6 separate regions of the Homo sapiens genome follow, and regions 2, 3, 4, 5 and 6 are each linked to region 1. Evidence: promoter capture Hi-C in 16 types of primary human blood cells and fetal thymus (Javierre and others, 2016). All regions are on one chromosome and are shown on one strand. The core of a region is centred on a gene start or on the middle of the fragment in contact, and the rest is flanking DNA. Distances in the headings are between cores, read along the strand shown. Region 1 holds the start of ENC1 (ectodermal-neural cortex 1). Region 2 has its middle 100 kb from the start of LINC02122. Region 3 overlaps LINC01331 (long intergenic non-protein coding RNA 1331). Region 4 holds the start of LINC01333 (long intergenic non-protein coding RNA 1333). Region 5 has its middle 78 kb from the start of LINC01335. Region 6 has its middle 32 kb from the start of LINC02122.

Region 1 (5,029 bases), core at 1,061-3,560:
AAACATGGCTGAGTGGAAGAAAGGAAGCAACAAAGTCCTAGAGCTCCAGTGTTAGGAAGACTTTACAAAGCACCCAGTAATTTCCACAGTGACTTGAGATATAAAAAATGGTGAGGAGCCAGCTTCACTCCCACCTCAAGCTAAGCATCTACTGTCTACTCCATTCTAACCAATGCCCAGTGTTTTGGAGAATGACCATATGAACCTATGGGAATGCATCAGGTTTCCAAAGGGTTAAAACATTCATTAGCATTCTCAATGCTCCACCACTGTAGTTGCTATTTTAATTAGTACATTCAATCTGGAGTATCTGGAGGAAGACTTTAAACCTAAACCTCAATAGACTGTCTACTTACTCTTGTGAATCTGCCGCCTCTCTCAGAGCAAATGCTGCCCTGAGTGAAGGAAGAATGAGGCTCCCTGAAACTAGGTGCACAGGCACCAAAATGCTTACACATTGAGCTGGAATCATGCTAGGCCCAGAACACATTTCCTTGAACATTAAATTCAGGATGGTGCAAAACAACATTCACAACCAGACTTACACCTAAGAAAACAATTTGCTTAGAAGACCTTAGGATATAGGATCTACATCTCTCCGCATCCTGTGTTTATGCTCCTGTATGTTCCAGGTTGGCCCAACAAGCCAGAAGGAAGAGCCTAGCCTGTCATCTTGGATACCACCCAGATGGAAAAGCACGTCACAGTCAAAATCACAATCAACATTCTTGCAACAATGTTTGATTAAAATAAAAAGTAAACTTGGAAACCCAAGAGGAAATACTTGCTTTCTGGTTTAAAACTGTGCAAACCTCAAAATATCAGCAGAAACCATGTATACAAGTCACTGAACACACCTTCAACATAAAATGAATCATCTTTCGAGCATTTTTAAGCCCCCAGAGAAATCACATTTGCATACCAAGTAAGTGGCCAAGAAAATGCACACATGTACTTAACCTACGTCTGCAAAGAAGACAGAGAAAGGGCTGCTATTACTGTGAACATCAAAAGGGCTTCAGTTACAGTAACTTCAGTTCACTTCATGCTCCTAACTCAGGCTCTCTGCCTCCAATGCTTAGCGTCCCGCACCCTTCTCCAGGTTTTGAACCTGATCTCAATCCAATCAAAAGAGAAACTAAGCAGATTTTTTTCTGGGCATTTACATTACCGGTAACAATAGAACATTATAAAGATCTTGTTAACAAAAGTAGCTTCTTGCCAGAGTCTTTTTATTAACACTTGCAACGCTATTTAACAAGCTGGCCATGCCTGTGTGACACCAAACCGCATGTGGATAAATTCAGTGTTTCATCTCCAGGCCCACCAATTCCTATCCTTTGTAACTAATAATGTTAACACGACAGATCAAGAAACTAGTTTTTCAGAAAGCAGTTTTCATTCATTCTCTATAGACATTTCCGCCGCAGTGAACATGCCCGCACTCAGGGTGTCTGTGCATGGCCCCAACTTTCCTCCAAGCCGGGGAGGATGCAACGTGGGCCAACCATCCCGCGCGCTCGGCCCTGGAGGCTGCGGGGAGCGACGCAGCGCGACATTCACCCCCAGGAAAGCGCTGCTTTCCGCAGAGGAGAGAGGCTGACTGTATCCTTAGCTCGGCTCCTCGCTTCCCCAGCGGCTCGCCCCAGACATTGCACCGCGGAGGGGAGGCCGGTCGACCTCTCCGGCGATGCCCGGCTTCTGCCTGCTGTGGGAGGGCAGCGGCGGGCACCGTGATCTCCGCACCGAGAAGAGCTCCCCTTGCCCTCTAGTCGAAGCTCCCGAGTGCTCGGAGCACGCTCACCCCTCGCGAACACACCCCTGCAGCCGAAGCAGCCCCTGAAGCCCGCAGCGCCTGCAACAGGTCCGGGGCAGTGGGGGAAACTTACAGCAGTGGCGACTGGCCGCAACGCACAACTGAGTTCTAGCGACGGTCACGGGCAAGGAGGCGACGAACCGGTCGTCTCAGCCCAGGGAAGCGGTGGCGAATGCCCCGGAGAAAGGAGGGCCAGCCGGGGAGAGGACTGCGCCCCGAACGATGGCTCGCGGACCGGCTACCGATGGCGTTCGCCTCCGTCTGTCGTCCCCACGCCGCGGACCCGGTGTCCAGGACCCGCAGAGCGTCTCCGGAGCGCGTCACGGTAGGGCAGAGCAAGCCTGCCACTGCAGGCGCCGCGGAAGGAGGCGGGCTGTGCGCTCGGGGGAGGGAGCTAGAAAGCGCCTTGTGTGCCGGCGGCCGCCAGGCGTCTGGACCGGGTCTCCGCAGCGCCACCGCCGCACCGCCTCCTCTCCGGCTGCCAGAGCAGTCTGCGCCCCGCCGCCGTGCGCCCCGCTATAAGTGGCGCGGCGGGGAGGGGAGGGGGCGCGTATGCAAAGAGACCGACACCGGGGGAGGGAGGAAGCGCATTAGCGCGGCCTGTGGTGTAGGAGGAGGAAGAGGAGGAGAAGGAGTGGGAGGAGGAGAGGAGCTAGAGAAGAGCGTGTCGGGGGAGTTAATCGGGAGAGGAAGCGGGAGAGGGGGGCTGCGGGGAGTGCAGAGAGACAAAGCGGACGCACTGTCTCAGCCGCTGGCAGCTGCAACCCCGGGAACCGAGAATAAAATAAGTTTTCCCGGGTTCGAGTGTCTGCGCCTCTTTGGGCCAGCCTGGTTAATGGACAGCCCCGGATCTGAGGGACCCACCTTAGGGGAGCGCAGCCCGGGGCTGTGCGCTTGGTGATGCCAGAGCCCGCGAGATGCTCTAAAAAGGGCTGCAAGGGGCGAGCTGGGTATCCGCAGGACAGGCCCTGGGCACGCATAGACAGCGCCTTGGGTAGGACACCCAGAGTGGGGAGAGATAGTGGCAATGGACGGGCAAAAGTCTGGACAGTTTAGGGACACTCGGGTTGAGCAAGCCAGGACGTTTAAGTTTCTTGCTGGCAGAGAGCCAAAGAGACTCCAGCCCCAGGCATTTCCTATGTGTCCTCCCTCCCCACTCCCCAGTGGGTGCGGCACCCCCGGCTGGACTCTGCCCTAAGCCAGGCGACTGCAGGGGCAGCCGGGGCGCAGTCCTGCGGGGCGCGCACCACGTGCTTTTCAGCCAATCGCCGCGGCCGCTTGATTCAAAGTGAACTCCTCAAAGCAGCAGCCACGCCGCCTCCTCTCCTAGCGATTAAGCCTCCATCACCTTCTCCTGTTTTTTATCGCTCGGTGGTGTTAGTTTGGAGTTCAGTAAAGAAATGGCCCAGCACACACACACGTTTAATAGTCCCGCGTGTCAGGAGAAGGGAAGGCGATTCGAAAAATAATCTCGCGTGGTGATCACTTTTACGAATCCCATTTATCTTTGCAACTAGAGGCTTGTCTTTCCACTGGGAGTTAAAATATCTGTCTTTTATTCGGTATTTGGAGCTAAGTCTATAAATGAACGGGATAGATGACCGGTCCAGCCCCCTTGTTTTACAGGTGGGGAACCGAGGCCCAGGGAGATGTGAATTGCCTGGCTCGTAGTCACTTAGCAACAATGTCCCAGCTCTGCAGCTCGAGAGTGAGGGCCCCACGACAGAGTTTATTCCGTCCCCGGGTCCCCGCGTCCCCAAGCGCCCGCGCTTCGCCTCCCAGCTTGCTTTAAAACACTAGGCGCAGGAGCGATTTAAACTGGCTAAGGAGGCCCCACATGGCGCTTCCAGAGTCCAGACTGCTGAAACCAAGACTGTCAGTTCTTCATTCTAATTTCATTTTCCTTTATCCTTGTTCCTTCCTGGTATTTGCGCCGAGAAATTTCGCTCCTTGCAAACAAAGAAAGACAGTGCCCTCTGAAGTCCTTTGTTAGCATTAACTCGGCAGCCTCACCACGAACCTTTCAATATATATATTTTTTAATGCAGAGTCTCGGCTTGAGGCTGATTCACAGAGACAGCCCGGATCAATTCATGTCAAGAACCACGTATGGAGAGCCAGGGGGGCTGCGAGGTTAGGAGAGGGCTGGCAAGCAGCACCCAGGTTCTGAAGCAAAGACCAGACAGATGGAAACTCTGTAGACTCCAGAGATAGGTGCTGAAAAGATGGGAGGCGGAAATGTGTAACTATTGCACATATGTCTTTTTAAAACATGTTTCTGTAGCCTGTGGCAAGGTGTGGGGGAGCTCATCAAGGCAGCCACCAACGCACCTTTTAGACACCTCCTAGACCCACTCTGTCTGCTTCCTTTGTGAGTCAAATCTACCTAAAACGGCACCTAGATGACCTTGCCTAGAAATGGACTATGTACATAGCTCAGCTGGTTGGTTGGGGATTTTGCCACAGGAAGCGACAGAACTAGGGACAGGTATGTATCTTTACCACCTAGAAATTGCGGGATGTCCTTAACCAAGGGAACAGCAAAGTTCAGATCCCTTTGCAAAGAACTTTGCTAAGCAGGCAGGGCTGAGAAAGGAAAGAAATCCGCTGGCCATTGTGTCACCATCCGCTGGTGCCACTTTCCTGTATCTTTTCTACCTAATGTTGCCACTTTCTATGCTTCAATAGAAGAAAGGGAAAAAAAGCTGTAGACTGGAAAATCTTGAAATGCATTCAGTGACCGTATACATTCGCTTCATCTGCCTCGGGGAGATAAGCAATACAAGAGAAAAGAAATTAGCTTATGTAAGTCCTAAAAACTGGAAAACATTTTCCTGCTGAAAGTCACAAGAACTAAACTTGCAAGTTTGGAAATCATGGGTGCTACTGATGACCTCCTACAAACTGTACTCTGGTTTGCTTGAGCCAATCTATGACTAGTTTTCGGGCAGTTGGGCAGTTTTTAATGCTTATCTCAGCTGAAAATGATTTGCAAGTTAGCAAATTTATGATCATAGCAATTCAAACGGTGTAATCCCACAGCATCTCTCAGCCAATCCTAAAGGTAACTCTTATCACCCCACTCACACAAAGAAAAGCTGAGCAAGTCTTCATTTTGTACAGGAAGAAACTTCTAAACAGGGCTGTCATCAAAACTGGACGACCATAGACATAGCAGATATCTGAGTCACAAACAAGTCAGGAAATGCTGCT
Region 2 (5,098 bases), core at 26-2,525, 440 kb before region 1:
TCACATCACAAATCATGGTGCCAGGAAGGGAAATAGACCAAGTAAACAGGCAATGTCAGGGAAAGGCCTGAAAGTAGGCTCTGAAGACAATGTCAGTCTTTAGAGTGATCCAGTCAGGAGGCAGGACAGCGGGGATATTTATACCCCTGCAACAGTAGGTCCTTAGTTGAGGACACCTCCCAGCAAAATGTAAACTTCCAGGTATGTTCCTACTCTGCTAACATATTGGTTCCAGCAGTCATTGATGTCATTTACAGCATGGAAATTCTCTGGCTAAGAGAAACAGAAGCTGGTTGTTGGGATGAGACTAGACAGGTGCTTGCCAATGGTAGAGGGACCCAGGCATGGGTGGAGCACTGACACCAAGAGCTGTCCCAGATGTCCTCAGGTCCAAAGCTCGTGCTTCCCCACTGGCACATGCCCTTGCCACAGACACGGCTAGAAGGCTATAGGCGTTCTGCATTCACAGGCTGCCATCCTGGAGGCAGGGTTGGTGGGGGCAGGGCCTATTTATAATGCCATCTCAGGGGACAAAGAAGGGGCAAAAACCCATTGTTCTTATGCCGCACAGTCACAGAAAGCCTCAACTTTTAAGCTTGTGGGTATAGCAGAGATAAAATTAGAGGATGGAAAGATGTCACCATTCAATTTTAAATTCCCAGACCCAGACTGTCTCTAAGGCACTATAAATTAATATTTTCTACATTTCCTAAAATTATCTTGTAATTAGCCCATTTATATTGTGTGACACTTCCTTCTGTGATGGGCCATTTTTGGTTTATTTTTAGAATTAATAGATTATGAACAGAATGTAACAATGATTTAAATCATAATAGTTATGATATTCTGTTTTATCAATTTTTAAATTATATTATTTTGCTACAAAATTTTTGATGTCTTGTTTCAGACCAATATTTTTAATAGCGTTTTGTGTATAAACATCAGCAAAGTGTGACATTTCTTATTAAATGAATCATTTTCTTAAATATAAATATTAGGCCACAATTTTCATTAGCTAGTTTTGGTATCTTTCATTGTTAACACACAGGAAACTTTGATATAAGAAGAGGGAAAATGAGCTCTCTGAACTCCTGAGATGGCTGCAGAGACAGCAGAGTTGACACACAGCAGGGGCATAGGCACCTTCCTGGACAGAGAAGAAAGCCCGGGAAGAGGTCAGTCTCAGAAGCAGGAGGTCCTGCACCTCCTGGCCACCACGGCCACAAGCTCTTCAGGAGCTGGGCCCAGAAGTGCAGGAAGGCAACATACGTCCAGGAAATGTTGGTTGGCTAGATGAAAGGATGAAGCGTCCTAATGACCCATGGACGGTGAGGACAGTTCCAGCCCAGGCAAAGGGCCTTTGAATCTGGAGGGGCTAGGCCAGCAGCCTGAATCATCTAGGTTTAAAGACAGCAGAAAGCCTGGCTCACAGCAGTGTGAAAGGACTCCAACCTGGGCACCTTCCCCAGCTTCATGGCCTGGGTTCCAAAGGGATTGACCTCTGACTCTTCATACCCACCTCAGGGGTAGCTGCCTGGGATACCCAGGCTCTGCCTTGGACCCTTGGAAGTTGGAGGAGCCCAGCAGTCTGAAGGAATATGCATGCTCTTGACTCTATTTACAGCTGGTCTCCAAACTTTTTCTCAGTATCTGTATCGGGTAAAAATATATATATATATATATATATATATAAAATATATAATATATAATATATATATATATATTATATATAATATATATATATACACATTCCCAATATTGGCAAGACAGAATTGTGACCTAGCTCATTGAATTCTTAACCCATGATGATATATGTGTAATGGTCTCCAGAGGGGCTATATCAGAATAACTTGATTTCAGTTCTGTTCAGCATGTCACTGGCCCCTTACTGAGTGCCAAGCACTGTGCTGTGTTCTGGGATCCAAAGTCGAATAAGACCTATTCCTTGTCTTGGAGAAGCTTATGATCCTGTGGGGAAAATAGCCCATATCTATAAGGTAAGGGCATAAATCAGGGAGTAAAGCCAGGGTTTAATGCTAGGTCACATGGGAACCTTAGGCTGGAGTGAAGCTCAATTCATCTATCTTTAAGAAGATTGAATATAATTATCATCCCAACTACCGAATGTACTAACGGAAGTGGGAATATCAGAGTGTGAAGGCAAAATCTTATTTTAAGTGCAATAGGAATGTATTTTTAGACTTGAAGCAAGGAGCTCTGGCTTGGGTGGGAGACTTGGATGGAAGTGGGAATTCATACCATTCTCTGCAGAGACCCAAGGGAGGCAAATCCTGAGCCATACTCTCTGGAGACAACATTCCAGTTTCTAAAATCTGATGTAAAGCTCACAGGGTTAGGAGACAGAGATAGGGAGGTAGTGTGCATCTACCCCCTTGGTAGGTGAGCTATGCCTTTGACCCTCTGAACAGAACTTTCAGAAAAAGAGATAGCCAGAAGCTGGTAAACAGGTGCAAAATTACAGCCAGGTAGAAGGAATAAGTTATAGGGTTCCATAACAATGTAGGATAACTATAATTAACAACAATGTATTATGTATTTTCAGATAGCTAGAAGAGGGGATTTTGAATGTTCCTCACACAGAAAAATGACACATGTTTGGGGTGATATATGCTAATTACCCTGACTTCATCATTACCCATTTTATACATGTATCAAAGTATCACACTGTACTCCCAAAATATGGACAATTATGTCAATTAAAAATAATAATAATAATAAGTCCAGAAACAAAGAGTTAAGTCACCAACTATTTTTTCCTTCTTGGTGAATTGATCTTCAGTAAGCCTTTTTTTCTTTTTCCCTTCCACCACCCCAACCCTGCTCTCTCTGTTTCCTTACCCAAGCTTGTGTCCTCTAGTTTTATGGGTGTTGCTATCGTCTCAGCTCCTGCCTGTAACTGCCCATTCAGCCTCTTTTTCATGCCCCTTCCCTGCAAGAAAACTGCTATAGCTGAATGTTATGTCCCCCAAAATTCAAATGGTGAAATGTAATCACAATGTGATGATACTACTAGGTGGGGTCTATGATCAGGTCATAAGGCTGCAGCCCTCGTGAATGGGACTAGTACCCTTATAAAAGAGGTCCCAGGGAGCTATTGTGCCTCTTTTACCATGTGAGGACACAGCAAGAAGGCATCACGTATAAGGAAGCAGGCTTTCACCAGACACTGTATCTGCTGGCACCTTGATTGTGGACTTCTCAGCTTCCAAAACTGTAAAAAACTAATTTATGTTGTTTATAAGCCACCTAGTTTATAATATTATTTTATAGTCACCCAAATAGACTAAGACAGAAACATCCAAAAGCGTTGGAAGCAGAAGATGCAAAGATAGTCCCATCACTTCTCAGAAACTCAGTCCCATGAGTGCTGGCCACTTCAACTGGGGAGGCTTAGTTTGGCTCAGCTTTGAGGAGGTGGTAAACAGCTTCCAAGTAATGGACTGAATATCTATGTCCCCCAAAATTCATATGTTGAAGCCTAACCCCCAATATGATGGTATTTGGAGGCGGGGCCTTTGGAAGGTAATTAGGTATAGATGAAATCACAAGAGTGGGAATCCCACGATGGGATTTGTGTCCTTAGAAGAAGAGGAAGAGAAACCAGAGCTTGCTCACTCTATTCTCCCACCTCTCCTTTTCTCTCTCTCTTCTTTCTTTCTCTTCCTCTCTCTCTCTCTGCCATGTGAGGCAACAATGAAAAAACAGCTGTGTATAAGCCAGGAAGAAGGCTGTCACCAAGAGCCCAACCATGCTGGTACTCTGATCTTGGACTTCTCAACCTTCAGAACTGTGAGAAATAAACATCTGTTGTTTAAGTCACCCAGTCTATCGTATTTTGTTATAGCAGCCCAAGCTGTCCAAACACAGGTTAAAATGGCTAAAACATTATGCAGTTTTTTACTCATTTTATTTTTCAAAATCCTCTCTCATTTAGAACATCTTTCAATTAACTTGAAAAATGACTCCTTATTATACTGTTACATATTTGCCACACAGAGAAAGTACAAACTATGGAGCAAAGAACTGCTAACTATTACCTCCATTCTGACTCTGGCAGGAGCTATGTTTCGAGGTAGTTCTGCCAATTAGTGGTTCTCAGACTGGGTTTCCCTATCACATAATCAGAATTCCTTGGGGTATGAACTATTCAGATTCTTGTCCTACCCTCCCCTGTCAGGGCAGAGTAGGTGAATGAAGGTAATTTTTTTTTTTCCTAATTGACATTTGGAACTCATTGCTCCAGAGAATATAAGTTGGAATTGCTTTTCTTCCCAATTTAGAAATTATCTAGTTTTCCTCAAGTCGTGAACATTCAGACTCTCTGAAAGCCTGTGTTTTCCCTCGAAACGGAATGACACATTGGCCCCCACTCCACCGCACACACAGTCGCCTCCCTCCTCCTCTGTTCACAGCCAAGCTCATGGCACATTGCCCAGCTGGTGAGCACGTTCTGGCTGCCCAACAGCTCTTCAGTCATCTCTTTAAAATTCATTATCCAAATGTGCAGAAATGATCATTTGGAGTTGCTATCATATTTCTCTGCAATGTGACACTCCTCTGACGGGATCATGTGTGGAGAAAACGTGCCCCTTTGACAGAGATGTTATTTCAGCAGGGTGTCTTCTTTCAAAGGGTTCTCCCTTTATCTGAACTATCAAATTGTTCCTAGTTCCATAAAAGCAGGGCAGCTATTGTGATGGAAATTTACATACACAGTGTAAATGCTGAGCTTGTTTGTTATTTGAAAGAAGCTGCTAGAGACTGAATAGATCAGGTGTGTCCTGGTCCTTCAATCAGGCCGTGGATTCAAAGGCTGGTCTTAAAGCGAATCCCTCCCTTTTCCTTATTCAGGTTACAGAGGCCACAGATGAGGAAGCATGTGCCACCTACCAGCTGAGCACAAGCGCCCAGTCTCAGCATGTGCAGCTCCTGCCTGGCATTGGGTGCCTGGTTTGCCAATGCTTCAGCATAATTATTTTACTCTATCTCCTGGGAGAACGCACTGCCCTCCTTTCATGTACAATAACACTTTTTTTGGTATTTACTTTTCCCATTCCAGACCTGGCCTTCTGTTCCC
Region 3 (4,413 bases), core at 1,501-4,000, 260 kb before region 1:
AGAGATTTATATTTTTGTTATGGACTGAAGGCTTGTGTCTCCCAAAAATTCACATGTTAAAGCCCTAACCCCCAATGTGACTGTATTTGGAGAGAGTCTGGGAGGAGGTGATAAAGGTTAAATGAGGTCATAAGGGTGGGGCTATAACTGATTAACTGATAGGACTGGTGGTCATATAAGAAGAGGAAGAGATACCAGAGCTCTCCCTCCACCGTGTGAGAATACAGCAAGAAGGCTGCCATCTGCAAACCAGGAAGAGAGCCCTCACCAGGACTGGCACCTTGTTCTGGGACTTCCAACCTCAAGACCTGTGAGAAAATAAATTTCTGTTGTTTAAGCCACCAGATCTGCAGTATTTTGTTATGACACCCCAAACAACTAATAAAATTATTTAACCAGAATCTCTTCTAGGAGTCTATCCTAAGGAAATAATCAGTGAAGCAGGCAAGGATTGAGGATGTAGCCTGCAGCATTAGAGGAGTAGTTAAAAATAACCTCAATCTCTAACAATAGATGTTTGGAAAAGTACAAAATATATATTGTTGAGTCTTTTGAAACCATAAAATCAAATGTTAAGGCTTATTTAATGGTGCAGTGGAATAATTGTTATCTAATATTAATACAAAAGTAGAGCAAACTCTATATCAATATGATTCTTATTTTGTTAAATTATTTATCAAGTATATCCACATAGAGAAAAGAAAAAAAGGACGTACATCAAAAAATTTTTAAAAATCAACTGGACATGGAATATTATCTCTGATGGTAGTCTTTTTCTTTTTTTCTTTTTTTTGAGGTGTAGTAAATCTTCAACAATCATCCTGTGTTATTTTTACAATAATAAAATACATTTTCTTTTTAAACAAAACCTATGAATCTTGCTTCCATCATTAGCTTGGAATAGTCTTTAAAGAGAGCCTTGTTTCTTCATGTTATGCTTATGTCCTGCCTGTAAAGTTTTAGAGACATTATCTAGGTCATTCACCTGCATTCATAAAACAATGTCATAAAGAAGTTTTCACTACAGGATGCTGGCATTGTTATTTTGTTGGTAACTCCTGCATGATCTTACCTACAATCTCCAAACAATTGGGCATGTACCTAGGAGTTCTATAATAGAGCTTAGCAAAATTCTTGCTTTTGTCTTTAAGACATATCAGTCCAGTTGGGCGAGATGGCTCATGCCTGCAATCCCAACACTTTAGGAAGCTGAGTTGGGAGGATTGCTTGAGCTCAGGAGTTCAGGACCAGCCCAGCCCAGGCAACATAGCAAGAGCTATTTGCTAACTAAAATTTTTAAAATCAACTGGGCATGGTGGCATGCTCCTGTAGTCCCAGGTACTCGGGAGGCTGAGGTAGGAGGATCACTTAAGTCCGGGAGGGCAAGGCTGCAGAGAGCTCTGATCACACCACTGCCCTCCAGCCTGGGTGACACAGCGAGACCTTGTCTCAAAAAAATAAAAAATAAAATAAGGTATCTCAGTCCAAAATCAGATCAGTTTCCTTCGAATTTCAAAAAAGGAAGTGAAGTAAACATGATTATTTTCTTGAAAAAGACACCACAAATATACCAAAATGGAAAATATTTTGTGGAAGAGAGAAGAAATTTACTCTAGATTGTTTCAGAAGAAGGAACTAGAATCAAAGGGTGAAGCCAGAGGAAGGAAGATTTTGATGCAGAACTGAGAACTCATTAATTAGAGATTCCTTGCAAAGTATGAGTCCCCCATTACTGGTGGTTAATAGCAAACAGATGACCATGTGTTTGAAAGGAAGAGAAAACAGAAAGATTTTAATAAAAATAAATAGGTTTATTTAAGGTTTAAATAAAATAAAAGCTTTTTTTTATTTTTTTACATCTCCCAAGTCTCCATCATTCACAGAAAGATAATTTCTACATTAAATTTGAACCAAACTGAAAGGCAGACTAGATAATCTTTAAGGCAAAGTAGCTATATCATTTTTGTCCCAACTGAGCACTTTTGAGAGAAAAGAAGTGATAATAATTACACCGAGACAGGGGCTTTCAGGTTAAACTGAAATGTATGGTCATCCTACTCTAGGGTCTCTTCCAACTCTTTGACACTAACTAACCTCTATGTTCCTCAACCTTAAGTGTTTAATCCTTGCTTCGGGGGCTAAACTGTTTCAGCACCTACCTTTGACTGGCTTAATTAAAATGGTCAGACATTCTGGTGTATAACAATCTTTCTTTGAATGGCTGAAGCAGAGAGGAGGAGAAATGCCAAATTCCCCCAATAATTGGTCCTTGGAGAAAAGAGAGAAGTGAGCACAGGTAATTGGAAGCCTACAAGGTACATGGCACTGGCAACCCCAGAATTATTTTGAGCTGCAGTTAGCAGCATACCTAGGTGATTACTACTTGGATATTTCAGTGTTTCCCAAGTGTAGCTGGAATGTGTGGCTCTGATTGGTTTTCCAGCTGGAAATGTTACAGAAACAGGAAGATTTCTGCTTTCAAGTGTCTTGTTGCATCCTGCCTCTGCTTGGCAGAAGCTCTGGTCTGACAGTCATGTACATCTCTTCCGCTGTGCTTTAGGATGGACATGAGTAATTTAGGGTGAGCTACAGCAACACTCACAGAATCACCCCCACAACAAAAAAGGCCACCCCCAAATACACCCTGTGTGGTTTTACTATGGACAATCACAGGGCCATCAGCTGGAAACAGGTGGTAGAGAAGATTTTAAAGGTAGGCTTTTGTAGATACCCATTGATGTGATATGATTTTTTCAGGGTCCCTGCCTTTTCTGAATATCTCTTCATTGGCCTCTCAAAAGTACCATGGGCTAAGGCATCATGCTCTTATATTTCCTATTGGAATGCATAAGCATTTTATCCTAGAAGTAAGACAGGAATTGACTTGTGATCAATAGTGTTTATATTCCTGCACCCAGATTAGAAACTCTCCCAGGGCAGAGAGTCTTTTTATATTTTTGTGTGTTCTCAGGGCTTGGCAAAGAGTAGGGGGTAATGGTGGTGGTATAATAGTGTTGATAGTAATCATCATAATGGCTATCTTTTTTTAAAAGAGAAGTTGTTTATTATAAACAGAAAGGGCAGGGCTTCCAAGAGAAGTTAGGAGAATTTTGAGAGGGAAAGAAACCTTGTAATGACCCACAGATGCCATCAAATGCGGACCCAGTTAGGACTGCACAGCAAATAATTTTGAGCAGCTGGAAAGCACCGGGTCTATGAATGAGACTTAGTCTATTTCTGCTACTACAACAAAATACCTTAGACTTGGTAATTTATAAAAAACAGAAATTTGTTTCTTACAGTTCTGGAGGCTGGGGAGTCCAAGATAAAAACACCAGCATTTGCTGTCTGGTAAGTGCCTTTTTGCTGCAAACTCACGTGGCAGAAAGAGCAAATGCTGTGTTCTCACATGATGGAAGGACGAAAAGGGACAAACAGATTCCCTTAAGCCCTTGTATAAGGGCACGAATCCCATTCATGAGGGCAGAGTCTTCATGATCTAATCACCTCCTAAAGGCCCCACCCTTAATATTATTGCAGTAGGAATTCATTCTCAAATTGAAGTTTGGAGGGAGAAAGGGAAAGATCTAAAGTAGATTAGAAGCCTCTGAAACAAATTAAATAGAGCTGAAGACAAACCATGCCTGGTTAGAAGTTTTACCTAAAGCTTGGGAAACAAACAGAGAGAACAAAGGTGACCCTATACCTGAACAGAGAACCAGGTCACATTCCCAGAAACCAAGAAGATGAGCTCTTTCTAGAGAGGTTTGTGTGTCAATTAATGGGTGATTGATTTAAACTGCAAGGAGAGATCATGTGTTCTAAGGCATCCTTATTAAACTCTGGCAATTGAGCAGCAGGGAAGAACAAAATGTGCAGATTATCTAAAAGCTAAATGGTGATAGCTTCAACTCTTTGTACCTTCAAGAAAGCCAGTACTTTGAAGTTGTTGTAGCATCAATCCAGCATCAAGCTCCTCACCACAGTCAAAATCAGAGAATGTATTCTGTTTTTACAGGGCAGCAAAATAGATATTTCACAGCGACTCTTGACTTGTTAAACTAGCCTCATCTCTAAGCTTTCCAAATAACAGCCAATAAGACGGCAACAACAAAAGCTCCTGGAATGAAACCAAACTATTGTTTGAGGAGCAATGTCCAGGCCTGGACACCTCCCTGGGTACTGAGCTGATAAGGACAGTAGTAACGAGGCAGCTTTCATATTAAGTATCAGCCAGGGCAGGTACATTCTAGGGGTCCAACGCACTTCCCAGGTGCCCAGAAGCACACCTTCAAGCAACTTGAAATAGGTAGGTACCCTGGGGACCTGAGTACTGCTGGCAGACTAGCGAAGCTCCAGAAATAGAACACGTGCAGGCTTCTTTCTAGCAAAGGTTATGGGTTGTCCAGAAAA
Region 4 (5,043 bases), core at 511-3,010, 320 kb before region 1:
TGAGGGGCCTTAGAAGCTACTGTGTACTTAGATTACTTATTAAGTGTCTACAGCAGTTCTACAGATGTAAGTTCCTTGCTGGAAAAATTTTTTTTTTCCTTAAACTGAACAAAGCCTGTTGGTGTAAATGAAACCTCAGAAAAAAAAAAAGAAAACACTCTTGTTCATTGTTATAGCTTTGCCTTTCTAGATGCTGCCACATGACCAAGTCGGACAGGTGGGAACCACTAACCATCTACCTAAGAGAGGAGTGATAGGTACTTCGGCCTCAGGTTTCAAACCTTGGATTTCAGAGTTTCTGTAAATGGAGAGAGGCATTGTTTCTGATAAGTGTCTCTGATAAAGCCACTTGGGAGGAAATAAAATCTTGTTACATGACTGGCTTTCCTTTTTACTTTTGCTTTTTCCTTACTTTTGGTAGCACTGATTCCGGGGGGAACGTGCTGTTTTCATTGGGTGTTTATGAAGAAATATTTTGTATTGTAAACTCAATTCAGTGAGGAGTGGTTCTCAACTGTGACGTCAGGACTCACTGATGAGTCTCAGTAAGTCATAGGGAGTGTCACAAATAAGTTGTTACTCATGATAGAATACCAAGGTGTCAGAATGAGTTCCATTACAAAAGACAAACTAGAGCTGACTCAATATTCTCACCATTTCAAAGTCATTCATAAACTCATGTATTCCAGTGTGTTTTCTTAAATGACAGAAAAAGAGACAGAATTACACCCAGTGAGTGGAATGACATACCTTCAAAATCCAACCACGGGCCACCTCACAACTATCAGGATGACTACAACAACAAGCAAAAAATACGAAAAACAACAAAACAGAAAATAAAGTGAGAATATGGAGAAATTCGAAATGCCTGTGCACTGCTGGTGGGAATGTTAAATGCTGCAGCCACTCTGAAAAGCAATATGGTGGCTCCTCAAAAAATTGAAAATAGAATCACCATATGATGTAACAATTCCATTTCTGGGTATATACCCAAAAGAATTGAAAGCAAGGTCTTGAAGAAATATTTGAACACCCACATTTATAGCAGTATTATTCACAATAGCCAATTGGTGGAAGTAACCCAAATGTCCACCCGTGGATGAATGAATAAACAAAATGTGGTACATATGTACAACAGAATATTATTCGGCCTTAAAAAAGGAGGAAATTCTGACACACACAACAATATGGATGAAGCTTGAGGACATGATGTTAAGTAAGATAAGCCAGTCATAAAAGGAAAAATACTGTATGAGAGTTACAGACAGAAAGGAGAGGGGTGGTTGATAATGTGAAGTTGTTGTTTAATGGGTACCGAGTTTCTGTTTTGCAAGATGAAAACGGTTCTGGAGACTGGCTACACAACAATATGAATGTATTTGACACTACCGCACTGTATAACTCAAAAATGGCTAATATGATCAATTTAATGCTATGTACATTTTACCACAATTTTAAATGTTTGTAATTTTTCAAAAAAGAGAACTACAACCATGGGCCCACGGAGTGTTTTGCATGTGAAGCATCACCCAGCACACATGCACAGTGGAGAAACTACTTTAGACAACGGAGTATCGGGAAGTTGTGGAGTATCGCTAAGACCGTCTTTTCTTACCCTCCTTTTTCTTCATCTCCTTCCTCATAGTCTATGAAAATTTATCACCAAAGCCTATTATTTGCAGAATCTTGCTGACTTGCCCTTTCTTTTCTGCCAGTGCAATCTCCATCCTCTCATAAAATCTACATTCTAACTCATCTCCTTGATTCTAGTTTTTCCTTCCCCTCCAATTCTTTCCTATGCCACTCCCATTGAAGTGTTTCTAAAACAGCCCTTATCCCGTATCTTTAGCTTGTCCAATAAGATATAAGAATTCCTCTTGAATCATTGCACCGGGTCTAACCTCAATACCCTTTACGAGCAGACCCTGTTCCTGTTGCTTCCTTCCACGAACTTTCATCCTAGCTGGAACAGATTCTTCACCAGTCTCACCTCTGTGCCTCATGCTAAATCTCCCCATCTTGAAATACAGTAGATCCCTGGTTTCATGTATTCGAAAGCCACCTGTAAGGCCTATGGCCTGTTCTTACCTGTCATGAATCTAAGCCCTGCACCCTGGAGTGGAGGCATGAGTGAGTCACTCTGCTAGGAGGGAAACTGCCACCCTCTGCATCTCAACATTGCCTTGTGGTTCTCTGCTTGTCATTTCGGAGGCAAAAACTCTCTTTGTGTTTCTGTTGTGGAAGAAATTATCATGATATTGGTGTAATTAGAAGCTCACAAATATCAGGGACCTATCAGACTTTCTTATTCTTTTCCACAATTTAAGCTTTTCCTCCTTCTAGAAGCCTTTCCCAGTGACTCTGACACTTGGTGTTTTCTCTCCTTTCTCTTTTCCAATGGCAAGAAAGGAACCTCTGACCCGCAAACAGGTAGCATAAGCTTCTATATGTTATCTATCTGATATAGTTTCTAAATTAATTTAGTTGAATAAACCTCACCACTTCAACCACAGTGTAGACTTTTTTGAAGATTAGAAACCAGGTCCTTACATCTCTTGCCTTCACATCACCAAGCACAAAGCTGGACACATTGCAGGTGCTCAATAAATATCATAAATTGTTGATCTAGAAACAGCACACTAAGGTCTCAAAAGAGTACATGAGAGCCATGGAGAAACAATGCGGTATAGTGATCCTCCTAGAGAGACACGTGTCTCCGAGGAGACATGGCCCCTTTCAAACAGCCACCTCAGTTCTCTTTTACTGCCCTATCCTTTCGCCGGGTTTCTCCTTTCAACCTTGAGAGATAACTGACATGGGCTTAGGATACTCAGTCATTCTGGAATTCTGTATCAGCACTGAAACATGAGTGGGGAAATTCTAAGAAATTTACTTCTCTTTTTCTTTTCATATTTTCCTCATTCCAAAGTGGAACTAAATCGAGGTTCCCTAGCAACCCAGGGCTCTGTGAAGATTCATTATTCTATAAAATCCCACCACCTTACAAACACAAAATGTTACAAGTTGCCCAGTCACCCCGGCTTCTGAGATGAAGAATATTATTGAAGTCAAATCTGGTGGCTATCACACTCCATGGAACTTGGGGCAACATTTAGGTACCTCTACCCAGGAAAGAATCTCTGAGAAATAGGTGGCAGTTTCTCTAGCAGCATAAGAAGAACCTTGATAAGCATCATCCTTAAGTCCTGACAGCAGTGGATGACTAGTCAGGAACCTGTCCAGGTAAGCGCACACCCTAGCAGGGCTCTGCTAAATGGCTCCAATGGCTCGGAGGCCTTACTGAACACTAGGGATTGATTTCTATTGAAAACCAAAAGGAAAATGAGAAACAATCGAAATCAGGGCTCCTTCCAACCCTGGCTCAATAGCCCTTTGTTTTGCATATTCTCTATGCAAGATGGTGAAATGTAGAGATACAATTAGAATATCAAGGCTAATGAAACTAATCATTTCAAATTAAGCCCATATACAACTGTGGCACCACAAAACTGCCTTCTCATCTCTGCTATCCTGGGGGAACATCCCAGATGCACAGGAAAAATTAGCTGTCTTTTCTGGAAATTAAAATGGTAAAATGCCTGATGCACAGAACATACTTCACAAATCTTAAGTGAGCCAAACGAGGCTTTTATCCCCTGACAGCAATCTTTCATGAGCTGGACAACTGTCCCCAGTGTGAGGCAGTGAAGTCTGGCTAGCACTCTGCACACAGGAATATCAAGGCCCCTTTTCCCTTTCATGCTTTGCCTCCTCAACCATACTCTCCCCTTTGTAATATCTCTGTCACTAAGGAAACCATGGTAACATCAGTGCTTCTGTTGAGCACAGTGGTCACTCAAAAGAGGCAGAGTGAGTTCAGCCTATCATTTGAGATCCGAGTATGATTGGGGAAATATCCTGAAATAGTCTATGATTTGAAGAAATGGATAGATGGCTAGAATAACATGCTAGATGGTAGTCAAGTTACTAACTGCAGAATTGATTTGATAAAATTCTCATCGTGTCTCCTGACTTAGGAGAAATATTGGGTCTGATGAATGGGTAAAATTCCCAGGTGAAAAGAATTTGGTCTGTAAGATTTGGCAGCACCCTGAGGTTTGCCATATCTGATGGCCTGGCTTTAGTGGCAGCACCTAGTGAAGGCCCAGGTGTCCTTCTGACAACCTTTACCACCTACCGTTTTGTCCTTACTTATGTTGAATCACTACACACAGGCTGTTGAATTCAGCTGTCTGTGGAGAAATTATACCAACCACATGGTTAGACAGAAGGAATACAATATATTGCTTAATTTGTATCTGAAAGCTAAGCAACATGGAAAAAAATCAAGCATGCTCAGTCACTTCCATGAGGACAAACGAAGACACTTCAAGGTAACCTTAGACAAAACACGTATTAATCTATAATCAGATGCCATTCAAAATAATAAGAGACATTGACCTGAATCTTAGAGCTGATGCAACTGAGTGTGTCACCTCAGTATTCAACCAGTAGGGGGTTGTTTATGGGGAGGGCTTCGGCTTGCCAATTAGAAGTCTTGGCTGATTCTAGCACTTTCTTGGCTGATTCTAGCACTTTCTGCAGGTTCTCTTTCTGCAGGTCAGTTACTTTGTTTGTAAAAGTGTACTCCTTCTTAGTAGCTATCAACTCCTTCTTGGTAGGGTTATTTCTTTTACTTCTTTGTATTCCTTCCACTATACAAAATACAAACCCTTGTTTATAGCTGATTCCCCAGTAAATTTCTGAAAGAACAAATGGATGAAAGAAGGATGATTTATGATATGTCCATGGTTGCTGAAAGAATGGGGAAAAATGTAAAATCACCTGAAAAGTTAATAGATAATAAATGCAAGAAGTTTTATTTGTAAAAAGCCAATAGATAATAAATAAAAGAAGTTTTATCCATGATAAGTAGATGCTGCTACTTTGTCAATGTCCCAGAGAAATACATGTGTCCAGAGAACATTTATTTGACCAATTCAATCAACCAACCAGAAATTCAGTTGAAACATCAGTTTGACA
Region 5 (5,126 bases), core at 1,125-3,624, 410 kb before region 1:
ATCCAAGACAAAATAGTAGGAAAAAGACAAAATAGTAGGAAAGCGTAGGAAAAAGAGGGGACATGTACTGACTGGTCCGTGTCCTGAGGGAATATCTCGTAGAGCTGCAGAAAGATGGCAAGAAGCAGAGATGAGTGGAAGATGGCTTTGCAAACCACAGGAGACCAACGACGTCTGTATTGTGGTATGGGAAAGAGGTTCCAATACACTTATAAGATGGGTACTCCCTACCTGGCACTGGACTAAGAGCTTACTATGCATGATTTTATTTTAACCTCCTACAGTTCTGTGAGATAGGTGTTATCATCCCATTTTATAGATGAGAAAACAGACTCAGGCTAGGGAACTTGCTAAAAGGAAAAAGTGAATGAGCGCCAGAGCTGGCACCCAAACTCCAGCCTCTGCTCCAAACTCACGCTCTTTAGCACCACCCTATAATCTTTCCAGTAGCAGAGGGGGCCAGTCAGTCAGTCCAGCATTTAAAAATATTATCTGATCTATGTGGATTCAGAACTGGTGGATAGGTCTGGGAAGAGCCTATGGTCTTATTTGACTATGTTAGAGCTTACATATATCTACAATAGGTATTGCTTAAAATGCAGAGAGGTAGTGGATTCTTGAAAATAATCATTATAATTTGACAGGTAGCACTAGAAAATATCAGCTAAAGCAACAAATCAAAGTACTTAATAGTATAAGCAAAAATAGACTTTTGATACTAGCAGAACACAGTAAAATGCTTTGTAGTTCTACAGGTTTTTCTGCTTAATTGCTTAGTGTTTCCCCAAAATTCTTGTAAACCTCTCTATGTCTTCATTCTTTTAAGTTGCCCCATTGTCTCTGGGTAATGTGTAATGTAATAGAAACCTCTAGAAAATGTTTCTTTCTTCCCAATACTATCACCAGAGTATTCTGTATTTATCTCATTTCAAGGAAAATGAAGCACAGAGAAATTGACTATGCCCTGTATACGCACTAAGGGATCGGGGCACAGAAAGGGGAGAAGTCGTGCAGGGATTCTAATGATCAAACCTGTATCTTTTATGAGATGCAAGTCATTCCTTTGCAATCAGTAGGCAGAAAAAAATCCAAGTTTCCTCAGAAGAAATTACCTACACAAACAGATTCTTACCGGTGGACCTAAAATGCTTTTCACAGGCAATAGTGAAACAGAGGAAATTCACGCTGGCAGGCTTTTTTCCTTGTAAGCTTTGTAAATGTGAAGGCAAGGGGGATAAATGAGAAGAAATAAAAGCTTTCTTTAAGTCTTACTTACTAATGGTTTTTGTCACAGCTTTATAAAAACAGCTCAGGTCTAATCAAAAGTGCAATTTGGCTGGACTTTTACAGCATCAACAGCCTTAGGAGAACACATTTCACTCCTAAAGTTGACATTTAAGCAATGCCCCTTGGTCTGGCCTTCAGAACCACAGCCCACCTTTAAAAACCAGGGTTGGGCCCTGGGTGGAGCTCTCCATGCCTCAGGTTACCTTCTTGCACTCCTTGGGTGGAATATTAAAATATGACCAGCCCAGTTTCTCAGTGCTTCTCCTGGGCAAAGGCATTTCATCATGGGCACACTAGTCGGAGTTAGCTGGGCCCTGCCTCTTCCGTGACTGTGTGGTTTCCCGACTTGGGCCCATTAAACTGAAATAATAGTCAGTTATTAAATTGTGTTCAGATACTAAATCCATTGGTGTGCATTTAACTAAGTCTGGGTTGTGTTTATAAATGGTGAGGGATGGAAGCTGGCCTAATTTTTTTCTTTGAAAAATAACGGTAAAGGAGGATTTTCCTTTATAGTGCATATTTATATTTATACTATATATTATATAATACACATTAATATAAATTATGTATTTATGCTATTATATTTACTATATTGCTTGAACTTTTACAATTAGAATATATCCATTGTGTAATTTAACAGACATTTGGAAAAAGGTGAAGGTCACATTAATGTTCAGAGTTTTTAAAAATAGCATGGATAGGTTCATTTCAAAGAAAGCTCTGGATACTGTATTAGTCCCTTTTTTTGCCACTAATAAAGACATACCCAAGACTGGGTAATTTCAAAAGAAAGAGGTTTAATGGACTCACAGTTCCACGTGGCTTACAATCATGGCGGAAGGCGAAAGGCACATCTTACATGGAGGCAGGCAAGAGAGAGAATGAGAACGAAGTGAAAGGGGAAACCCCTTATAAAAACCATCAGATCTTGTGAGACTTATTCACTACATGAGAACAGTATGGGGGAAACAGCCCCTATGATTCAATTATCTCCCACTGGGTTCCTCCCACAACATGCGGGAATTATAGGAGCTACAATTCAAGATGAGGTTTGGGTGGGGACACAGCCAAACCGTGTGAGATGCACTGATTAAGAAGACTTTATAGCAGACCATCCATAATCATACTTTGCAGAGGTAGCCTCTGATGATACTTAGATGTATGGCATTTCATCCTTTTATTGTTCTCCTAAAGATATACACATATACACATATATAGAATTACATATTTGCTGTTTTGAAACTATCCTATGCTCTTTCACCTAAAAATATATTATAAATGCCTTTGCATTTGTGGAAAAAAATTTATATATAAATATATATATATATGCATATACATACATGCACCAACCTAATATATGAAATATGAAATAAATTTTAAAGTGGCAAAGTATTTCATTGTTACTTGACCCTGTTAATCCCAGATTTTTCTAATATAAACAATACTGAAAATAATATTTCTGTCCAAACATTTTTGTGCTCATGCCCTGTTACCATCATGGGATAAACCCCCATATAAAAAATTGCTGGATCAAAGGGCATATCTTTTCAAAGGCTTTCCACACCTATTGCCAAATTGCTCTCCAGAAAAGTACTGTTTCTTCCTCCAGCGGTGTGTGAGAGTCCATTTCCCCAGGCTCCAGACAATGTGGGCATTAGAATTCTTTTTACTCTTTACCAATTTGATAGGCAAAAATGAAATGGTGACTCATTGTTTTTATTTGATAGGCAAATATAAAATGGTGCATTATTACTTTTGTTAAAGAAATTATATCCTCATATTTTTCCTGTTGGACTGTTTATCCTTTCTAATTTAGTTGCAGAATTTCTTCGTGTTAAGAATACCAATTATTTGTCTTTCATAATGTTACAAAAGTTTCTCAGTTTTAATTTTTCTCAATTTGGTTTACTTCTAAAGATTTTAATTTGTCTGTAGTTAAACTTGTCAGTCTTTTTCTTTATGGTTTCTACCACTCATGACATTTGCTACACTATTGATTGCATGTTTTGTGGTATATTTCATAGATGGAATATAGGCTAGTACATACCCTGAGTCAGTTCAGATTCCAGACTGAGCGCTGTGTGTGCTAAATAGCTTTGAAAGAATGATGAGATTTCTGCTAGAATTGTGACAGAGATCCTGAGTGTTAAGAGCCTCAGATGTACTCACAGGTATCCAGAACACATAGGTGTTTACAGGGAATAAAAGCTTTATAATGTATCTCATAAATGTCACTGAAACATCGGTGTGGCACATGGGTATATTCTAGAGATAATCAATATCTTCCGTCCCACATGTTCTTCTTACCATGTGACTTTGACCCTAGTCCCATGGAGAAGTGGGGTCTGTGCTCTCTCCCCTTGAATCTGGGCATTCTTGGCATTACAGAGGAGGTGACACTGTGTGACTTCAGAGGATGGGTTATCAGAAGGCACCAAGCTTCTTCCTGGTCCTCTTGGTACACTTGCCTTTGAATCCCTGGTCCTCCAGGTAAGAGTCTGACGGCTCTGAAGCCACAGTGAGTAAGTGCAAACTAGCCCACAAGGAGAGACCCCACAGAGGGAACCTGAACTAACTGGGAAAGATGGACAAGAAATTATCAAGTAGTGTGATAGGAAATATACCTAATATTGTGATAACATATAAGAAGAGACCCGACCTAGCCTTGGGGATCAGAGGAGGCTTCCTGGGGGAGCTGATGCAGGGACTGAGTGAGATCTGAAGGACAAGTAGCAGCAGGGGATGTGGGGCAGACTTAGCATGGAGGGAACTCCAGCCAGAGGTGGCAGCAGGAGTGACTAAGGCCGGGAGGCAGGGGTGATTCGGTCTATTAAAAGAAAAGGAAACAGTTCAGTGTGGCTAAGAATGGAGCAGAAATGGTACAGAGATGAGTGATGAAGCTGGAGAGATAAGAAAGGAATAGATGACGAAGGACCCTGTTTACCAGGTTGAGAAGTAGATAGAAATGTGTGTATTTTCAGCGAAATTTTTATCATTAGCATTTCCAGGCCTTGCTAGGATTTAGATATAAAATGTGGGACTTGGACAGTCTGGGTATTTTTCTTTTTTTTTTTTTTTTTTTGTAAAAGTGATTCCATCTGTCTTGGTTTGCCCTTCCTGGGGGTACTTTTTCTCATCCCACGGGAAGCTGTGCCTTTGTCTTTAAGCCTTTGGCCTAAAGCTTAGCTTCTCAATGGGGGCTATGTCCCATTCTCCTTTGTGCCCCCAGAATGCCTAGGACAAAGACAGCCCTTGTCCTGTTCAATGCTTGCTGCTTTGTGGTGTCTTAACTTGCCCATCCCTGTCCTCCCTCTCTCTCTCTTTTTTCTTCTCCTGTCCCCTCCTTTCCCTACTCAGAACTTCTTTGTAGTCAACCCACACATATGAATCACAGTAGCATCTCCCAAAGGGGAAACCCCCCTGCCAACCAGCTGGTCCAGCCTCATTCCATTAACATTGCTGAGTGTGAACTTCCCCGCTACATGACCAATTTCATTATGTATGAGACTCAGATGCTGCCCCTGAAGAATTCTGAAGGAGGGCTTTTGGGAGTACAGCCCAGTGTGGCTAAGCACGCCTCTCTCATTTGGCCAAACTCCTCCAAATCCTCATCTTTCGCATCATCTTCCATCTTGTTTTCCTTTTCCTAGAGAATCTGATTTTTTGCCTTCAAGTCCCATTTATTGTCAAGTATGTGTATCTGGCCTCAGAGTGAAAAGAAGAACTTACCCAATTGGTGAGAAAGATAGTCTCCCCATAGAGTGCTTAGAGAAAAAGATCAGTTCAAGATAAAGAGAAATTAGAGTTTAGAGCTCGAATGATGGAAATCCTTTAGA
Region 6 (4,516 bases), core at 628-3,127, 510 kb before region 1:
CCTTAATTCCTTCCTACTGGCTATGTCAGCTCTGTCCTCTCAACAATCAGGGAATTGAATATAATCCCTAATTATTTTTTCTGCTTTGGCTCAGAATGGAATCTGGTGTTTTCTCAATTCCTTTCCAGGGCATCCTTTAACTTCCTTGGGGGACTCATTGTCACAGTGCAGTGTCCCTGTCCCCCCTGCCCCCTGTTTTCAATTCAGGACACACTACTTAACCACTTTCAGATGACATGATTAGAGGTAGCTGGCTCAGTTTTCTTCCAGGTATGTAATTCAGCGATATACCAAAGACTCCCTTCTCTGTGTGTGTTGCAGAGGAAGAAAAAGGCAGGAGACACTCATCCCTATATTAGGCCAAACTCTTTTGGTTACAAATAACTGGCTTAAGCAAAAAGACAAAAGGGATGTATTGGTTCATATTTAGGATACTCCGAAGTGAAGATGGCTTCAGGTAAAGCTGGATTCAAGGGTTCAGATGAAAATCATGTAGTGATTTGTCTTCTCTTTCTCTCGTTTTCCATCTTTCTTTTGTCTGTTGGCCTCGTTCTTTCCTCCTGCAACTGAGCTTTCCAATGGGACCAAGGAAGGTGCATAAGCAGCAACTCTAGGCTGACATGGTCTCACTCAGCAACCACAGTGGTGAGACAGCATCTATCTTTCCATGCACAGAAACCAGAGGACTTGCTCTGGCACTGCATGGGTCATGTGCCCAAGCCAGCCCAATCGCCTGTGCTCTAGTGGACCCAGGGTCTAGCAGGGGAAGAGAGTGGGTGGAGCAAGATGCTGTCAGTACTCCAACATCATCCCCTTACTCTTTCCTGTTTTCGTGCTCACCTGCCACACATCCAAGTGTCAGCCCCATGTCTCTTTGCCTAAGGGCTCTGCTGTCTGGCCTGTTTGCAAGATTGGCCAGAAGTGCCTGGGATCAGCCCTCCACCAGGGAGTTGGTGTATAAAGACCCCAACTTTCTTGGCCCTCGTCTGGGCTAGCGATAGCCTCATGCTTTACATTGCTCCCCTGGCTTCCCCAGCAGGTTTGAGCTCCTTGCTCACAGTGGTAACCAGCTTCAAGACACAGCCTTTACTGGATTTCTTCCTACTCCCGTCAGGTCTCCACTCTTCCCAGTGTCTGCTTGCACTCAAATCCTTGTCTCAGGGTTTGCTTCTGGGAAATCTCAAACTAGACGAGAAAGAACCCAAGTTCAGCCCCTCCAGGGCCATATGGAGTGGTGTGAGGCACTTCCCTTGAGGAAAGAAGGCACTGGGCAGAGTAAGGGAACAGAGGCCTACAATCTCTGCAGCCATCCTTATGGTCCTGGCACCAAGGCCCTTCTCTCTCTCTCCCGCTTTCAGTTAGGGGACAGGATCCCACTTCCAAGATGCCCACAATCACTTTTATTTTCCAGTATTCCAGGTTCCTAGACAAATGGCTTCCAATCAGTCCCCACTCTCCCCTCCCTACCACGGAAATACTGAAGCCTGGAGAGGCTGCTCCACTCACCCACGGGGGTCCTCTAGGCTCACCCATTCTTTCACTCCAATTTCGGACAAATAAATGCTTGATTTTTCAGATTTTCCAAGGGATATTTTTAGGATATATATAGGCAAAACTCATATCAAACTGCTATTTAGGAAATGTGTTTCTTAGTACTGTGCTTCCCCTCACATTGCCCTGCGACTGACTCTTTGAGATATTCCTAAACTGTTAGTAAACCAAGACTTATTGGTAAACTGAGGACAATACTCACATATTTGCCCCTCTGTGTTCTGTAACAGAACCTAGGGGGGTTTTTAGATGTTAATGTCTGCTTGTTCTTTCCAGGGATTCAAAATAATTCATTCCAGGGATTCAAAATAATTCATATTTTTATTTTTGAGACAGTCTCGCTCTGTCATCCAGGCTGGAGTGCAGTGGCGCAATCTCGGCTCACTGCAAGCTCCTGCCTCAGCCTCCTGACTAGCTGGGACTGCAGGTGCCCGCCACCATGTCTGGCTAATTTTTGTGTTTTTAGTAGAGCAGGATGGTCTCGATCTCCTGACCTCATGATCTGCCTGCCTCGGCCTCCCGAAGTGTTGGGATTACAGGCGTGAGCCACTGCGCCCAACCAGATTTTTTTAACATAAAAATTTTTCTATTAAAATTTTCTTTCAAGTATCATTAGCATTCATCAGAGAAAGCAAAGCCCAAAGCAAAAAATCAAAACCAGCTCAACCTATAATTTAACATTGAGAAATTTCCTCCATTTCCAGACCTCTGGCTTTTGATAGCACATGATATCCCACATTGGTTCAAAGAAATTCAGGAACTTGCTCCATACATGCGATGTTCAGAGAAACCTTCAGTCCCTTGTAGGACACAGCACTGTTCACACCTCTTAGAGGTCAGCCATATTACATAGGGCCACACTGTACAAAATACTAAGGGTGTGTCAGGGGGTGTGACCCTTTTCACTATATACAAGTCAATGATGTAACAGGTACTATATGTGCCTTTGGTAATATAACTTTTTAATTAGCTATATCTGCTGTCTTTGGGCAAGTTGTATTTTACATTGTGAATGTAAAAATTTAAACTTAGGTTTTAAAACATTTACAAACATTTTTGGAAAATACTTCAAATATTTTGCATTTTTCTGTGCCTTGGAAAGAGGATGGTGAAAGCATTTTGACTTATTCAGTTTGATGTCTTGATTTAGGGTTTTGATAAATAGCCATCATCACCACCATTATCTAAGCTATAAGAATGATGTTATCAAGCACTTTCAAAGTAGAGTTGTTTCATGTTCCCTTAAGCTGTTAGACTACTGTGCTCTGTGAGGTCCCCCTCTTTCTGCTTCCTCTCCCTCTTTTTTCTATGGTTCTCTAGCTGACTGTCCCTAAAAGCCAATGTTTTCCTTTGCTCTCATTAACTAACAGCAGATAGTACTTAGCACCCACTCTGTGACCAACACTAATGTAAGTCCTGGGACTTTGGCAGTGGACAAAGAGAGCAAGTCTTTGCCCTTATGGAGTTTACATTCTGGCAGTTGATGCCTACTTATCTTCTTTAGCTCCTCTCTTTTCCTTGTCCTCATATTCCAAACCAATGAAACAAGTAGAATTATGTTTACAGCATAAGCTCTGAACAAGGGCACAGGGTCTCATCCACGATTCATTTTTTATAAATTTCAGTGCATGCAGCATGTAATATGAATTTTTAGGTACTGAGAACTCTTCAGTTCTTTCTGGTTTCTCATTAGTGTGCTGGATGGTTCAATTTGTGGGACACTAGCCTTTGGATAAGTAGTGTCATTTAATTTGATTCACATAATACTTTGAAACAGACACTTCCCTTTCTGGCCCAATGGAAAAGACAGTGGCACGTGACATAAAAGGGTCTTATGAATTTTTGCTTAATATTCAGAAGAACTTTGTAGAATATATGATAAGAAGTGCAAATTGGGGCTGGCTTTGCTGGTGCACTCAGTTGGTTTGGCATTGAGCAGATTCCAAGGTGGAATCATAATGTCCCCAACAGCTATCTTGCAGCCCACCCCGACTATGCTTGTGCTGCAGCTTAGAGAAGAGAATCAGGCCCCAAGATCAAACTGTACTCTTTAGATTGTCCCATTTTGGGGAACAGCCTGGCAGCTGCCACCTGGTCAATCCCTCCATATTTGGCGCCTGGAACAAGGCAGCCTGCCAACCTGCCACCTGAGAGCTGTTTTTCATTGCTGACTTGGTCACTGATTTTTTTAAATTCCACTTGTTTTTCTTATATGTTCAAGTTTGGCCAAAAGGAAAAAATAGTCTTCAGTTATCCAAGTGATCATGCTGTGTACATACATAGGAAAGAAAACCTGAACTTTTTCTGGCTGCCTTACTGACTGCTGTAAATTGTCCTCCAGCATGCACAGAGTGGAGCCAGAATTTCCAAAGAAGGACTCCAACCAGGAAAATCTGGATGTGCCTTGCTTTTCAGAGAACTGCCCTCTGCTTTTTAGGCACCCCCCTGCCAACTCCACATCCATGGAAAAAATTTGACTTATTATGGTTGTTTTAAAAGAGACATTGTTGACTTCAGACAGAAGCTAGACTGCAATCTAAGGACCCAGAAGTGAGCAGAACTTCTAAGAAGTGAGTCAAAAGTAAAGCAGCCCATATACCGTCAGTGACAAAGTCAAAAAATAAAAGCCTCTTAAAAATATTTTTTGAAGTCATACATGACATTCTATGTCTCCAAACCATTTACCTGTAAGTAACTTTTAAAAATCTCCCCCAAGAAAGTATGCAGTTGAATCCTACAATATGAGGAATTTGAGGCTTTAATTATGGGAAGATAAATGTAGGGAAGGGGATCATAGGATTCTATTTTCCTCCCTCAGCACCTAAGCTACTGAGAGGCACTCAACTACTTCAGTCAAGAGGGATGCAAAGACCCCCCAAGCTAGCTTTTGAATCCATAAGACTTCTTGGTAGCGCAATATATGAAGCTTTTCCATGAGGGCTTAGGAAGAGAAAGGGACCCATGT

What was found. Contacts are between HindIII fragments. The CHiCAGO score rates a contact against its expected background, and 5 or more counts as called.
Region 2: a contact is called between a fragment that was not itself captured here and the fragment with the promoter of ENC1 in region 1, in 1 of 17 cell types (neutrophils). The highest score is 5.7, in neutrophils.
Region 3: a contact is called between a fragment that was not itself captured here and the fragment with the promoter of ENC1 in region 1, in 1 of 17 cell types (neutrophils). The highest score is 5.5, in neutrophils.
Region 4: a contact is called between a fragment that was not itself captured here and the fragment with the promoter of ENC1 in region 1, in 1 of 17 cell types (M1 macrophages). The highest score is 5.9, in M1 macrophages.
Region 5: a fragment that was not itself captured here is called in contact with the fragment with the promoter of ENC1 in region 1 in 1 of 17 cell types (neutrophils); the score reaches 5.3 in neutrophils.
Region 6: a contact is called between a fragment that was not itself captured here and the fragment with the promoter of ENC1 in region 1, in 1 of 17 cell types (neutrophils). The highest score is 5.9, in neutrophils.

The regions. Positions count from the first base shown.
Region 1 is chr5:74,638,418-74,643,446 of GRCh38, forward strand. It overlaps ENC1 (ectodermal-neural cortex 1), which reads right to left and starts at 2,311. Exons shown (of 3, transcript NM_003633.4): 1 at 1,890-2,311. It also overlaps a transcript of HEXB not described here. RefSeq lists enhancers at 1,760-2,119, 2,581-3,296, 3,297-4,010 and silencers at 2,160-2,419, 4,927-5,029. The HindIII fragment of the contact is 20,564 bases long and covers 1-5,029 here.
Region 2 is chr5:74,202,186-74,207,283 of GRCh38, forward strand. No RefSeq gene overlaps it. Among named protein-coding and RNA genes, the nearest start is that of LINC02122, 100 kb to the left of the region's middle. The HindIII fragment of the contact is 1,364 bases long and covers 594-1,957 here.
Region 3 is chr5:74,376,238-74,380,650 of GRCh38, forward strand. All of the region lies in intron 2 of LINC01331 (long intergenic non-protein coding RNA 1331), which reads right to left. Among named protein-coding and RNA genes, the nearest start is that of LINC01333, 57 kb to the left of the region's middle. The HindIII fragment of the contact is 1,829 bases long and covers 1,837-3,665 here.
Region 4 is chr5:74,318,615-74,323,657 of GRCh38, forward strand. LINC01333 (long intergenic non-protein coding RNA 1333) reads left to right here and starts at 2,973. Exons shown (of 5, transcript NR_197443.1): 1 at 2,973-3,243. The HindIII fragment of the contact is 1,130 bases long and covers 1,196-2,325 here.
Region 5 is chr5:74,227,801-74,232,926 of GRCh38, forward strand. No RefSeq gene overlaps it. Among named protein-coding and RNA genes, the nearest start is that of LINC01335, 78 kb to the right of the region's middle. The HindIII fragment of the contact is 2,243 bases long and covers 1,254-3,496 here.
Region 6 is chr5:74,132,809-74,137,324 of GRCh38, forward strand. No RefSeq gene overlaps it. Among named protein-coding and RNA genes, the nearest start is that of LINC02122, 32 kb to the left of the region's middle. The HindIII fragment of the contact is 5,195 bases long and covers 1-4,475 here.